Linked DNA regions of Homo sapiens: all the other regions are linked to region 1. Evidence: promoter capture Hi-C in human tissues and cell types (Jung and others, 2019). All regions are on one chromosome and are shown on one strand. Each heading gives the region's core, a stretch centred on a gene start or on the middle of the fragment in contact. The rest is flanking DNA. Distances are from core to core; before and after follow the strand shown. Region 1 holds the start of FBXO39 (F-box protein 39). Region 2 holds the start of LOC124903908 (a long non-coding RNA gene). Region 3 has its middle 19 kb from the start of TEKT1.

Evidence for each region. The method cuts DNA at HindIII sites, captures the fragments that hold promoters and counts their contacts. A contact is called where the count stands out against the background at its distance.
Region 2: a contact is called between a fragment that was not itself captured here and the fragment with the promoter of FBXO39 in region 1, in 2 of the 25 tissues and cell types used here (mesenchymal stem cells and spleen).
Region 3: a fragment that was not itself captured here is called in contact with the fragment with the promoter of FBXO39 in region 1 in 2 of the 25 tissues and cell types used here (H1 embryonic stem cells and dorsolateral prefrontal cortex).

The regions. Positions count from the first base shown.
Region 1 is chr17:6,774,515-6,778,270 of GRCh38, forward strand. FBXO39 (F-box protein 39) reads left to right here and starts at 1,701. Exons shown (of 4, transcript NM_153230.3): 1 at 1,701-1,758. It overlaps XAF1 (XIAP associated factor 1), which reads left to right. Exons shown (of 7, transcript NM_017523.5): 7 at 1-1,133. LOC124903905 (a long non-coding RNA gene) reads right to left here and starts at 1,596. Exons shown (of 3, transcript XR_007065594.1): 1 at 1,506-1,596. The HindIII fragment of the contact is 13,622 bases long and covers 1-3,756 here.
Region 2 is chr17:6,894,680-6,898,435 of GRCh38, forward strand. It overlaps LOC124903908 (a long non-coding RNA gene), which reads right to left and starts at 267. Exons shown (of 2, transcript XR_007065597.1): 1 at 186-267. It also overlaps the pseudogene ALOX12P2. RefSeq lists an enhancer at 1-2. The HindIII fragment of the contact is 4,243 bases long and covers 1-3,754 here.
Region 3 is chr17:6,848,454-6,852,209 of GRCh38, forward strand. No RefSeq gene overlaps it. Among named protein-coding and RNA genes, the nearest start is that of TEKT1, 19 kb to the left of the region's middle. The HindIII fragment of the contact is 4,954 bases long and covers 1-3,756 here.

The DNA of each region.
Region 1 (3,756 bases), core at 451-2,950:
TTTCATGACAAAGATCCCAAAAATAATTGTAACGAAAGCAAAAATTGACAAATGGGACATGATTAAACAGAATTACCATTTGACTCAGCAATCCCATTATTGGTTATATACCCAAAGGAATCTAAATCATTCTGTCATAAAGACATATATACACAAATGTTCACGGCAGCACTATACACAATCGCAAAGTCAGGGAATCAAACTAAATGTCCATCAGTGGTAGAAAGGATAAAGAAAATGTGGTGGCAGGGAGTGGTGGCTCATGTCTGTAATCCCAGCACTTTGGGAGGCTGAGGCGGGTGGTTCACCTGAGGTCAGGAGTTTGAGACCAGCCTGGCCAACATGGAGAAACTCCGTCTCCGCTAAAAATACGAAAATTAGCCAGGCGTGGTGGCGAGCACCTGTCATCCCAGCTACTTGGGAGGCCTAGGCGTGAGAATCGCTTGAACCTGGAAGGTGGTGGTTGCAGTGAGCCGAGATCCTGCCACTGCACTCCAGCCTGGGCAACCAAGCGAGACTCTGCCTTAAAAAAAAAAAAAAGAAAATGTGGCACATATACACCATGGAATACTATGCAGCCATAAAAAAGAATGGGATCATGTCCTGTGCAGCAACGTGGATGGAGCTGGAAGCCATTATCCTAAATGAACTCACTCAGAAACAGAAAACCAAATACCACATGTTCTCACTTATAAGTAGAAGCTAAACATTGAGTACACATGGATACAAAGAAGGGAACCGCAGACACTGGGGCCTACCTGAGGTCGGAGCATGGAAGGAGGGTGAGGATCAAAAAACTACCTATCTGGTACTATGCTTTTTATCTGGATGATGAAATAATCTGTACAACAAACCCTGGTGACATGCAATTTACCTATATAGCAAGCCTACACATGTGCCCCTGAACCTAAAAAAAAAGTTAAAAGAAAAACGTTTGGATTATTTTCCCTCTTTCGAACAAAGACATTGGTTTGCCCAAGGACTACAAATAAACCAACGGGAAAAAAGAAAGGTTCCAGTTTTGTCTGAAAATTCTGATTAAGCCTCTGGGCCCTACAGCCTGGAGAACCTGGAGAATCCTACACCCACAGAACCCGGCTTTGTCCCCAAAGAATAAAAACACCTCTCTAAAAGCTGCTCTTCCACCTTTCTTTGGGTTCCGCACTGGTTTTCCAGGGCCAGGAATGGCAGCAGCCAGGACCCCAGGATAAGGGCAGTGCCCAAGGAAAGGGGAGCAGAAGACATTCAGGGAGGGGGAAAGAAATGAGGCTGGGACAGTGGATAAGGGCCAGGTGAAGGGGAGAGGGGCGGCTTCTGAAGGCTTTGGGCAGGGAGAGTGGCTGGGGGAAGCCTAGTAATGCAACCTATCCAGCGGCGGCTTCGGAAAAAACCCGGGGCTGGGTCAGGATGGGAAAGGCAGCGAACTGAACCGTTTTGAGCCCCAAGTTCGGGGCCGAATGTCTTCCCTGTGCGCAGAAGCAAGGGCGGGGGCGTGCCATCCTCACCCGGAGCGCCGGCCGAGCCTCCCGCCTCCCAACGCCTGGCCAGGGCCCCGTCTCGCCCTCTGCACATGGGATCCACTGACCAGGCAACTGCAGGTTTGGGGCTCTGCGACCCGGGGGCAGGAACAGAGCCTTGCAGGCGGCAGCGCGTCACAAAGGCGGCCGGAGCTTGGCATTTAGCTTGGGCCAGAGCAAGGCGCAGACCCGGGGCGCCCATGGAGTTGGCGTCGGAGCAACAGCTGCGCGGGCGGAGCAGGTAGGCGCGCTCCAGTCCCTGCAGCCCGAGCGGGGTTCAGCGAACGGGTAACGGGAGAATGCGGGCCGGAGCAGGCTGGGGTGGCGGTGGGATGCCCCGAGGCCCGCGGCGGGGAGGCGGGCTGCTCTCATCACCCCCTCTGGGAAGCATCTTTGGCTGCAGGAGTTGCCAGGCCAACTCCCCCTCCCGCGGTGGGTAGGACATCTTTAGATTTCCCTCCCTGGTTGGCAGCTGTGTGATATGGTGGACCAACCCTGGGTTCGAATCCTATCTCCCCACTTACTACACGTTCTCCCTGGGAAACTTTATTCACCTTCCAACACCTCCGTTTCCGTATTTGTGAAATGGATGTGTTTGTATTCCTATCTTCCTTGGCGGGACGTTGCAGAAGTACCTCGGCACCAACTTTCTTATTAATGGCAGCCAGCTCTTGTATAGCGTTTACTACGTGGCAGGCACTCACTGTTCCCGGTGCTTTCCAGGTATCAGCTCACTTAATCCTCCCAACACTAAGAGAAAGGCACTATTATTACCCCATATACAGATGTGAGGATTCACACATAAAGAAATTGACTTGCCTAAGGTCATCCGACTGTAATGGGCATAGCTAGGATGCAGCCCACTAAGCTACACTGCCTCTGATGGGGTCTCGGGGGGTAAGGGGAGGCTCCCAGTCATTAAATAGAATTTGGAGTCTCCTTACAGCAACTCTTCCAGACACACATATTCTTCCAACCCCACCCTTACAGCACCAGTGTCTGATGACTTTTCCTGACCTACAACCTTGCTAGGCCAAAAGGTTTCATGGAGCTTTTATTTACTTATTTATTTTATTATACTTTAAGTTCTGGGATACATGTGCAGAACATGCAGGTTTGTTACATAGGTATACATGTGCCATGGTGGTTTGCTGCACCCATCAACCTGTCATCTAGAATTTAAGCCCCGCATGCATTAGGTATTTGTCCTAATGCTCTCCCTCCCCTTGCCCGCCACCCCCCGACAGGCCCCATTGTGTGATGTTCCTCTCCCTGTGTCCATGTGTTCTCATTGTTCAACTCCCACTTATGAGTGAGAACATGCAGTGTTTGATTTCCTGTTCCTGCGTTAGTTTGCTGAGAATGATGGTTTCCAGCTTCATCCATGTCCCTGCAAAGGACATGAACTCATTCTTTTTTATGGCTGCATAGTATTTCATGGTGTATATGTGCCACATTTTCTTAATCCTGTCGATCATTGATGGGCATTTGGGTTGATTCCAAGTCTTTGCTTCGTGGAGCTTTTAAACTGGTTTATCTCTTCTGCAGCACCTTTTAGGAGCTTTGCTTGGTGGTGAGTGCTGTGGAGATCCCTAGCCTTGGGCAGTTTGCAAGTGATTGAAGAGACCTATTTCTTCATTTGTTAAATGTTTAAGTACCTTCTCAAAAGCAGAAGGAGGTTGTCAAGGGGTGTGTGGGTCCCTTGGGAGAGAAAGGCAAGGACACAGATTATACAAAGAGGGGCACTGGCAAGAGGTAGCAGAAGGAGGCAAGCTAAATACGGACACAGCCATGCTGGGAACCACTAGGGCGCCACGTCATGGGCGGGACGGGCTGCTGTTCAGTCCTTTACGGAAGTCTGTTCGGATGTGGCGGTGGGAAGGCCAGCTGGAGACAGGGGCCAAATCAGTGAGTGGGTGGTGAGAGAAAGTGATGGCGTAGTGAGGACAAAGCCTGGAGAAGGTCCCTAGGGAGGCCCACAACTGTGCTTACTTGAGGATGCTCACTGCCACTGTGGTGTTGGTGGGAGCTGGAGGAGACTTGGGGTCCATCAAAGGAAAGAGGATGGGAGACAGGCAGGATACCTGCCATGGGTTCTATTCAGCTGCTAGACGCAATGGGTGAAATGTACACAGAGCCACAGGAATAAGTCCGACAAACAGTAAGTACACATTTGGCAAGCACACATACAGACAAAAAGACACACGTCAAACACACTTGAACAGTTGCCTATGGTGGG
Region 2 (3,756 bases), core at 383-2,882, 120 kb after region 1:
GGGAGGGCATGTGCTCTTGTCCCTCTCCCCCAGCCCGGACCGTGAGTGATGACCCCCAGAACCTGTTTAAGAAATATCGGGAACAGGAGCTCGAGGAAAGAAGGAAGGTGTACCGTTGAGCCCCAGGAAGTCTTTGATCCCCTACCAGATCCCAAGAAACCTGCCACCTGCCTCCTTACCCCTACCTGTGTGTTCTTCCTCCAGGTGGGGCTCCTGGAAAGATGGGTTAATCCTGCCTATAGCAGGGAATAGGCAACCGGACCTTCCTAGGGACGAGCGATTCCTCGAGGATAAGGATTTAGACTTTAATGTCTCCCTAGCAAAAGGGTGAGTACCAGGTAGAGGCTGGGCACTTGCTTCCTAGGGCACAAGGTGGGATGCTTCCTTGATCTTCTTGCACTCCATTCTTTCCACAGGTTGAAGGACTTGGCCATTAAGGGGACACTGGATTTCATAAATTGTGTGAAAAGGCTGGAAGATTTCAAAAAAATATTCCCACATGGAAAGACTGTCCTGGCTGGTCAGTTTTCACAACCTCCCAAAACCAATATACAGACTTCCAACCCAGGGATTTGAAAAAGGAGGGGGATGGAGGATTAGATCAGTGGGATTAGGAGTTCGGAGCTCAGAGCTCACAGGGTGCTCCCCAATTGATGTTCCTAGAGCGGGTTTATGATTCTTGGAAGAATGATGCCTTCTTTGGGTACCAGTTTCTCAATGGTGCAAACCCCATGCTCCTGAGGTGTTCTTCAAGGCTCCCAGCCTGCCTGGTGCTGCCTCCAGGGATGGAAGACTTGAAGACCCAGCTGGAGAAAGAACTCCAGGTGCTGCTGGGCTTTCTGCCCATCCACCATCCCAGCCATTACCCCCACCTCCCTTCTCCTCCCATCTCCAGCCCCTTCTCTCATCTCCTCCATCTACACCCAAGGTTTCTCAACGTTGGCACTATTAACATTCTGCACCACATAATTCTCTGTTGGCTGGCGGGGGGGGGGGGGGGGGGCTTTCCTGTGGATCGTAGGGTGTTTAGTAGCATTCCTGGCCTCTACCCATTGATGCCAGCAGCATCCCCCCGGTTGTGACAACCAAAAATGTGTCTAGATAGTGCTGAATGTCCTGGGGTTGGGGAGAGGAGGAATTGCCCCTGATTGAGAACATTGATCTACAACATCTCCTCCTGTATCTTCTTTTCTTTCTCCACATTCCTCTCTTCCTTCTTCATTGAACATATATCAGCCTTAGGGAAAAGCGCAAGCTTCTGGAGAGAAATAGCAAGAAAAACTAAACAAAGCCTTGGAGAGCTAAAAGCTGAATCTGTTTTTGGGGGGAGATGGGTAGCTAAAGGAAATATTTTTGCTACATTGGCTAAAGCTGGCAGAAGAGGGGATACGTGAAGAATGCAGTGGCCTTATGTGGTGGAAAACCAGAAACTTCGCTGCAGGGAGCTCCAAGTCTGAAGGAAGACATCAGTCATGAAAACTTTGCATTCAGTTTTTTGGTTCTGCAGAAAGTGATTGGTGTTTAAAGTAAAAAAGACTTGGGTGGGTAGAGGAAGGATCCACCCTGGAAAATGAGAGAAGGGCAGCTCCAGAAACAACTCCAACCCTGTTTTCTATTCCTGCCCCTGGCCCTGTAGGCTGGATCTCTGTTTGAAGTGGATTTCTCCTTGCTGGATGGAGTCAAGCCTAATGTCATCATTTTTAAGCAGCAATGCGTGGCAGCCCCTTTGGTCATGCTGAAGCTTCAGCCTGATGGAGGACTCTTACCCATGGTCATCCAGGTGAGAGGGCCCAGGTATTTTTCTACCAGACACTGATCTCCTTTAGGGACTTAGATACACAAGTTCTCAGCCCCCACTCTCTCTCCTGCTCTAGCTCCAGCCACCTTGACACGGATGTCCCCCACCTCTGCTCTTTCTGCCCTCGCATCCCCCCATGGCCTGGCTCCTGGCCAAGACCTGGGTCCGGAGCTCTGATTTCCAGCTGCAGCAGTTACAGTCACATCTGCTGAGGGGACACTTGATTGCTGAGGTTATTGCTGTGGCTACAATGAGAAGCTTGCCTAGCCTCCATCCTATCTACAAGGTACTTCAGCATCTCTGTCATTCTGTATCTGACTGTCCTTCATATTTCAGACTCCTACAAAGAGTCTAACCTTGTACATTTCAGTCTAGCAGCAATCAATTTATATGTGGAGACACATACACAGATACATACACACACGCGTACACATACACAGTAATATGGAAACACCCAGGACACACACTTACTATGAGTTGGGGGGAGAAGTGAGAATAGGTTTTGCAAAGGAGTTGAAATTTTGGCTGAGGAGGTTTCCAGGTGGGCAAGTGAGGGGTGGAACATTACAGCCACAAAGATCTAAAGAGGCGAGGAAAGAAGGGAACATGGATAATGGCTGAGATTGGGTGAGATTAAAGTGTAGGGCATGAGTTGGGATGAGGAGGAAGAAGAAGTGGGAGGAGATGAGAGAAGAAGCCATGTTACTTAGCGGGGAGAAGAATCAAGAGTTATTTTCTGACCATGTGGGGCTTCCAATGCCTATAAAGACCCATTTGCACATGTCAGGAGGGCAACTGGATATGTGAGTCTGGAGTTCCTAGAAGAGGTGTAGGTTGAAAATACAGATTTTAGAGTCATTAGAAAACAAAAGTATCAAAGTCATTGTACTGGATGAAGTTCTCTAGGGTTTGTAGAGAATTTGACCGAGATATAACTCTAGGGTGAACCAACATTTACAGACTGAGAGAAGGGAGCAGAGTGAGAAAAGAAACAAGAGAAGGAACCTCATTGAGGTAGGAGGAAAATCAAAAAGTGCAATCCATGGCAGCCAGGAAAAGAAAGCGTTTCAAGAGGGACGCGTGATTATCTGTCTCAAGTGCTGCTGAGAGATCAAGAAAGTTACAGAGAAGTGACATTTGGATTTCTCAATATGGAAGTCATTGGTTAATAAATGGACATGCGCCATCTCAGGGAAGTGGAGGAAGCCTGATTCATGGGGGTGAGCAGCAAATGTGAGGTGGGTAAGCAAAGACAACACTGAGTGAAGATTTGCTGTGAAAGGGAAAGCAAGAAACAGGGAGATGGCAAGACAAGGATGTGGGGGTCAAGCACAGGTTTTCTTTAGGGTATCCAATATTGCACATGTTTGTATGACAGAGAGAGGAGAAGGAATATAATTATAGGAGGGTGAAGGCAAAAAGGGATGGGCTCATATGTGGGTACCTGCGAGGATATGGGATTTTTAGAATTCTTCCAAGGACATGAAACTGTGGAAATAAGTGAACTCCTAAAACTTTCACCACGGGATGCTCTGAGAAGACATTTTCCCATCTCTATATTCCCAAATGTTACCCTGACCCACTCCAATTTAACGAGAAGTCTCTCCATTTCATAAAGACCCATCCTCTCCCTTCTTTTCTGTCACTTCCTTTAACATCCTCTTCCCTCATGGATGCTGGGAACTCTCTTATTTGACCATGTCCCATTTCTTTCTTCCATAATCAGCTCCTGATCCCCCACTTCCGCTACACCATGGCGATCAACACGCTGGCCCAGAGTAGTCTTGTCTCCGAATGGGGAATTTTTGACCTGGTATGGAAATGGATGGGTGAAGGGGAGGATGGTTCAATATTGGAAGAATCCTAGGGGTTGTTTCCCTTTCCCATTCCTCCCCCAAGCTCTCCTTCCTCCATGGAAGGCCTCTCCCAAACCTGCCTCATGCCTGAAGAGCTTCCTG
Region 3 (3,756 bases), core at 781-3,280, 74 kb after region 1:
TACAGGTCTGCTGGAGTTTGCTGGAGGTCCACTCCAGACCCTGTTTGCCTGGGTATCACCAGCAGAGGCTGCAGAACAGCAAAGATTGCTGCCTGCTCCTTCCTCTGGAAGCTTAATCCCAGAGGGAAACCTGCCAGATGCCAGCCGGAGCTCCCCTGTATGAGGTGTCTGTCAACCCCTGCTGGGAGATGTCTCCCAGTCAGGAGGCATGGGGGTCAGGGACCCACTTGAAGAGGCAGTCTGTCCCTTAGCAGAGCTCTAGTGCTGTGCTGGGAGATTCACTGGTCTCTTCAGAGCCGGCAGGCAGGAACATTTAAGTCTGCTAAAGCTGTGCCCACAGCTGCCCCTTCCCCAAGGTGCTCTGTCCCAGGGAGATGGGAGTTTTATCTATAAGCCCCTGACTGGAGCTGCTGCCTTTCTTTCAGTGATGCCCTGCCCAGAGAGGAGGAAACTAGAGAGGCAGTCTGGCTACAGCGGCTTTGTTGCACTGTGGCGGGCTCTGCCCAGTCCAAACTTCCTGGTGGCTTTGTTTACACTGTGAGGGGAAAACCGCCTACTCAAGCCTCAGTAATGGCAGATGCCCCTCCCCATACCAAGCTCGAGCATCTCAGGTTGACTTCAGACTGCTGTGCTGGCAGCAAGAGTTTCAAGCCAGTGGATCTTAGCTTGCTGGTCTCCAGGGGGGTGGGACTCGCTGAGCAAGACCACCTTGGCTCCCTTGCTTCAGCCCCCTTTCCAGGGGAGTGAAAGGTTCTGTCTCACTGGGGTTCCAGGTGCCACTGGGGTACAACAACAACAACAAAAAACTCCTGCAGCTAGCTCAGTGTCTGCCCAAATGGCCACCCACTTTTATGCTTGAAACCCAGGGCCCTTGTGGTGTAGGCACCTGAGAGAATCTCCTGGTCTGCTGGTTGCAAAAACCGTGGGAAAAGCATAGTATCTGGGCTGAATAGTACAGTCCTTCATGGCACAGTCCCTCATGGCTTCCCTTGGCTACGGGAGGGAGTTCCTGACCCCTTGCACTTCCCAGGTGAGACGACGCCCCACCCTGCTTCTGCTCACCCTTCGTGAGCTGCACCCACTGTCTAACCAGTCCCAATGAGATGAACTGGGTACCTCAGTTGGAAATGCAAAAATCACCCATCTTCCTCATAGGTCTCGCTGGGAGCCGCAGACCGGAGCTGTTCCTATTTGGCTATCTTGCCAAGTTCCCCCTCATTTTCTTGAATTACAGCTTTTAGTATTCTTTCTGATCCTTTGCTTTGGTTTTTGTTCATCTTTCCGTTGTGCTTTTGTTTTGTGTAATGATATTATTTTGCCCTTTATTGTCTCTTTTCTTATAGTAACTTTGTATGGGATTTGACTTCACTACTTTTCTACTGCCATTTTTATGTGAATTTTGTTTTCCATGTTAATAAAAAGAAGCTTGTTCAGATAACACATCTAACTTCTTGGATCCCCATCCATTTTTGTTCTTGTAATGTTCAAAAACATGATGGCCTGCTTTTGGAGATTTCCTGGCTTTGTTTCCCCACCCTGTGCTTTTCTGGATCTTTTCTTTCATTTATTTCAGTTGAGTTTTTCCAAGGGTTTCTCTGAAGTGTTCCGCTCCATCCTGGAAGACAGCCTTGGCTGACCAGTTTCAGGAGTTCCCGTAGGTCCTTAGATCTTATCAACTGTGCCTGGCACCTACTTGCTATTACAGTGGTGATAGGCTTTGGATCTGTGTCCCCTCTAAATATCATATCAAACTATAATCCCTATTGTTGGAGGTAGGGCCTGGTGGGAGGTGACTGGATTGTCGAGGAGATTTCTCATGAATGGTTTATCACCATCTCCTTGGTGCTGTTCTCGCGCTAGTGGGTGACTTCTCCTGACATCTGGTCGTTTAAAAGTATGCGACACTGTTTTAGTCTGTTCTTGCATTGCTATAAAGAAATACCTGAGACTGGGTAATTTATAAAGAAAAAATATTTAATTGGCTCATGGTTCCACAGGCTGAACAGGAAGTATGATGCTGGCATCTACTTGGCTTCTGGGAGGCCTCAGGAAACAAAATCATGATGGAAGGTGGAGGGAGAGCCACATGGCTGGAGCCAGAGGAAGAGAGAGAGAGGGGAGAGGTGCCACACACTTTAAAGCAACCAGATCTCATGAGAACTCTATCATAAGAACAGTACCAACGGATAGTGCTAAACCATTCACGAAGGATCCACCCGCATGAGCCAATCACCTCCAACCAGGTCCCATTTCTGACATTTGAAAATTACAACTTGACACAAGATTTAGGTGGGGACACAGATCCGAACCATATCAGGCACCTTCTCCCCCTCTTCCTTGCTCCTGCCTTCAGGATATGATGTGCCTGCTCCCCCTTTGCCTTTTTCCATGATTGGAAGCTTCCTGAGGCCTTCCCAGAGGCAGAAGCCACTATGTTTCCTGTACAGCCGGTAGAACCATGAGCCAATTAAACCTCTTTTCTTGTAAATGAGCCAGTCTCAGGTATTTCTTTACAGCAGTGCGAGAATGGCCTAAAACAAATGGGCATGTTCCCTCCTAGTTCCAGCTGTTGTTCCCAAATTGGCCTACTACAATTTTACCATTTTCAGGTTTGTCATATGTCCTGTTGTTTTCTTCCAAGTTCTCTTGCACAGGTGAGATGTGGATAACACATAGGTCTTATGGCTGTTGGTGGTTTGTCCTGTTTTGGAGTTTGCAGGGATTACTTGTCTAGCTTTTTGTAAATGTGATTCATGAGTATTTGATTTTGCTATCTAGTTCTGTCTGTTTTTATGTGGATATCCAGGAAGATCCAAATTCTATGCTGCCTCCACTGAAACTGTCTTCCCAGAAATGTATTACTTTTTGTCATTAAAAAGGAGGTATAGGAAGATTAATCTATGCACTGCATTTGGAAAGGTGTTTGTTTGTTTGTTGTTTATTTTTAGGTTGCAGTGATGGCAGGGAGCCAATGTTGATTTCTGATATGGGAGGATGATGATCAGAGCTGGTCATCTGAAAGATTAACTTGGCAGAAGTTTGAAGATTGAAGAAAAGTAGTGGAGTGAGAAGGCCAATTCTGACAGTACATCAGCAGTCCAAATAGGAGATGATAATGAGGGAAAGGTGAGTGGGAAGGGCAAGGAAAAGACAGCTGTGGGGAATTCAATAAACGCTGAATCAGTGGCTTGGTGGTGAGGGAAGGATGAAGAAGAGTTAGAAGAATCAGAATTGACTGAAAATTTGTAGGATGAATGTCTAGGGGAATAATATTACCCAAAACACCAGTGTAGATGAGGAAAATGATATGGTGACAGTAATAATGAGGGGTCAGAGGGAGAGCAGTGACTAATTTTTTTTTTTTAATTTGCATTTCACTAGCTGGAGGTACCTCAAGAAAAAGATGTTGTGTGTGAATGTGCAGGGCTGAGGGAAAGGTCCATGCTAGACACACAGATTTGAGAGTCATCTGCAAAGTATACTCCAGGAAAGATAGAACAAATGGCACTATATATCCACAGAAAACTTAGAAACACTATTCCTGAAATAAAGATTGCCTTTGCTCATTGAAAATGTTCACAGTGTTTCAAGTTAACAACTAGTAAAGGACCAAGAGCAAGAACTATCCTCAGGAAAATACTGGCTATAAAAAGAAAGACCTGAAGCTCTATGTGTACAAGTGGTGCTTGTAAATTTTTCTGAGTAGTCTGGTGGTGATTATTGGGGCATCCCCAGATATTGATATTTGGAGATATT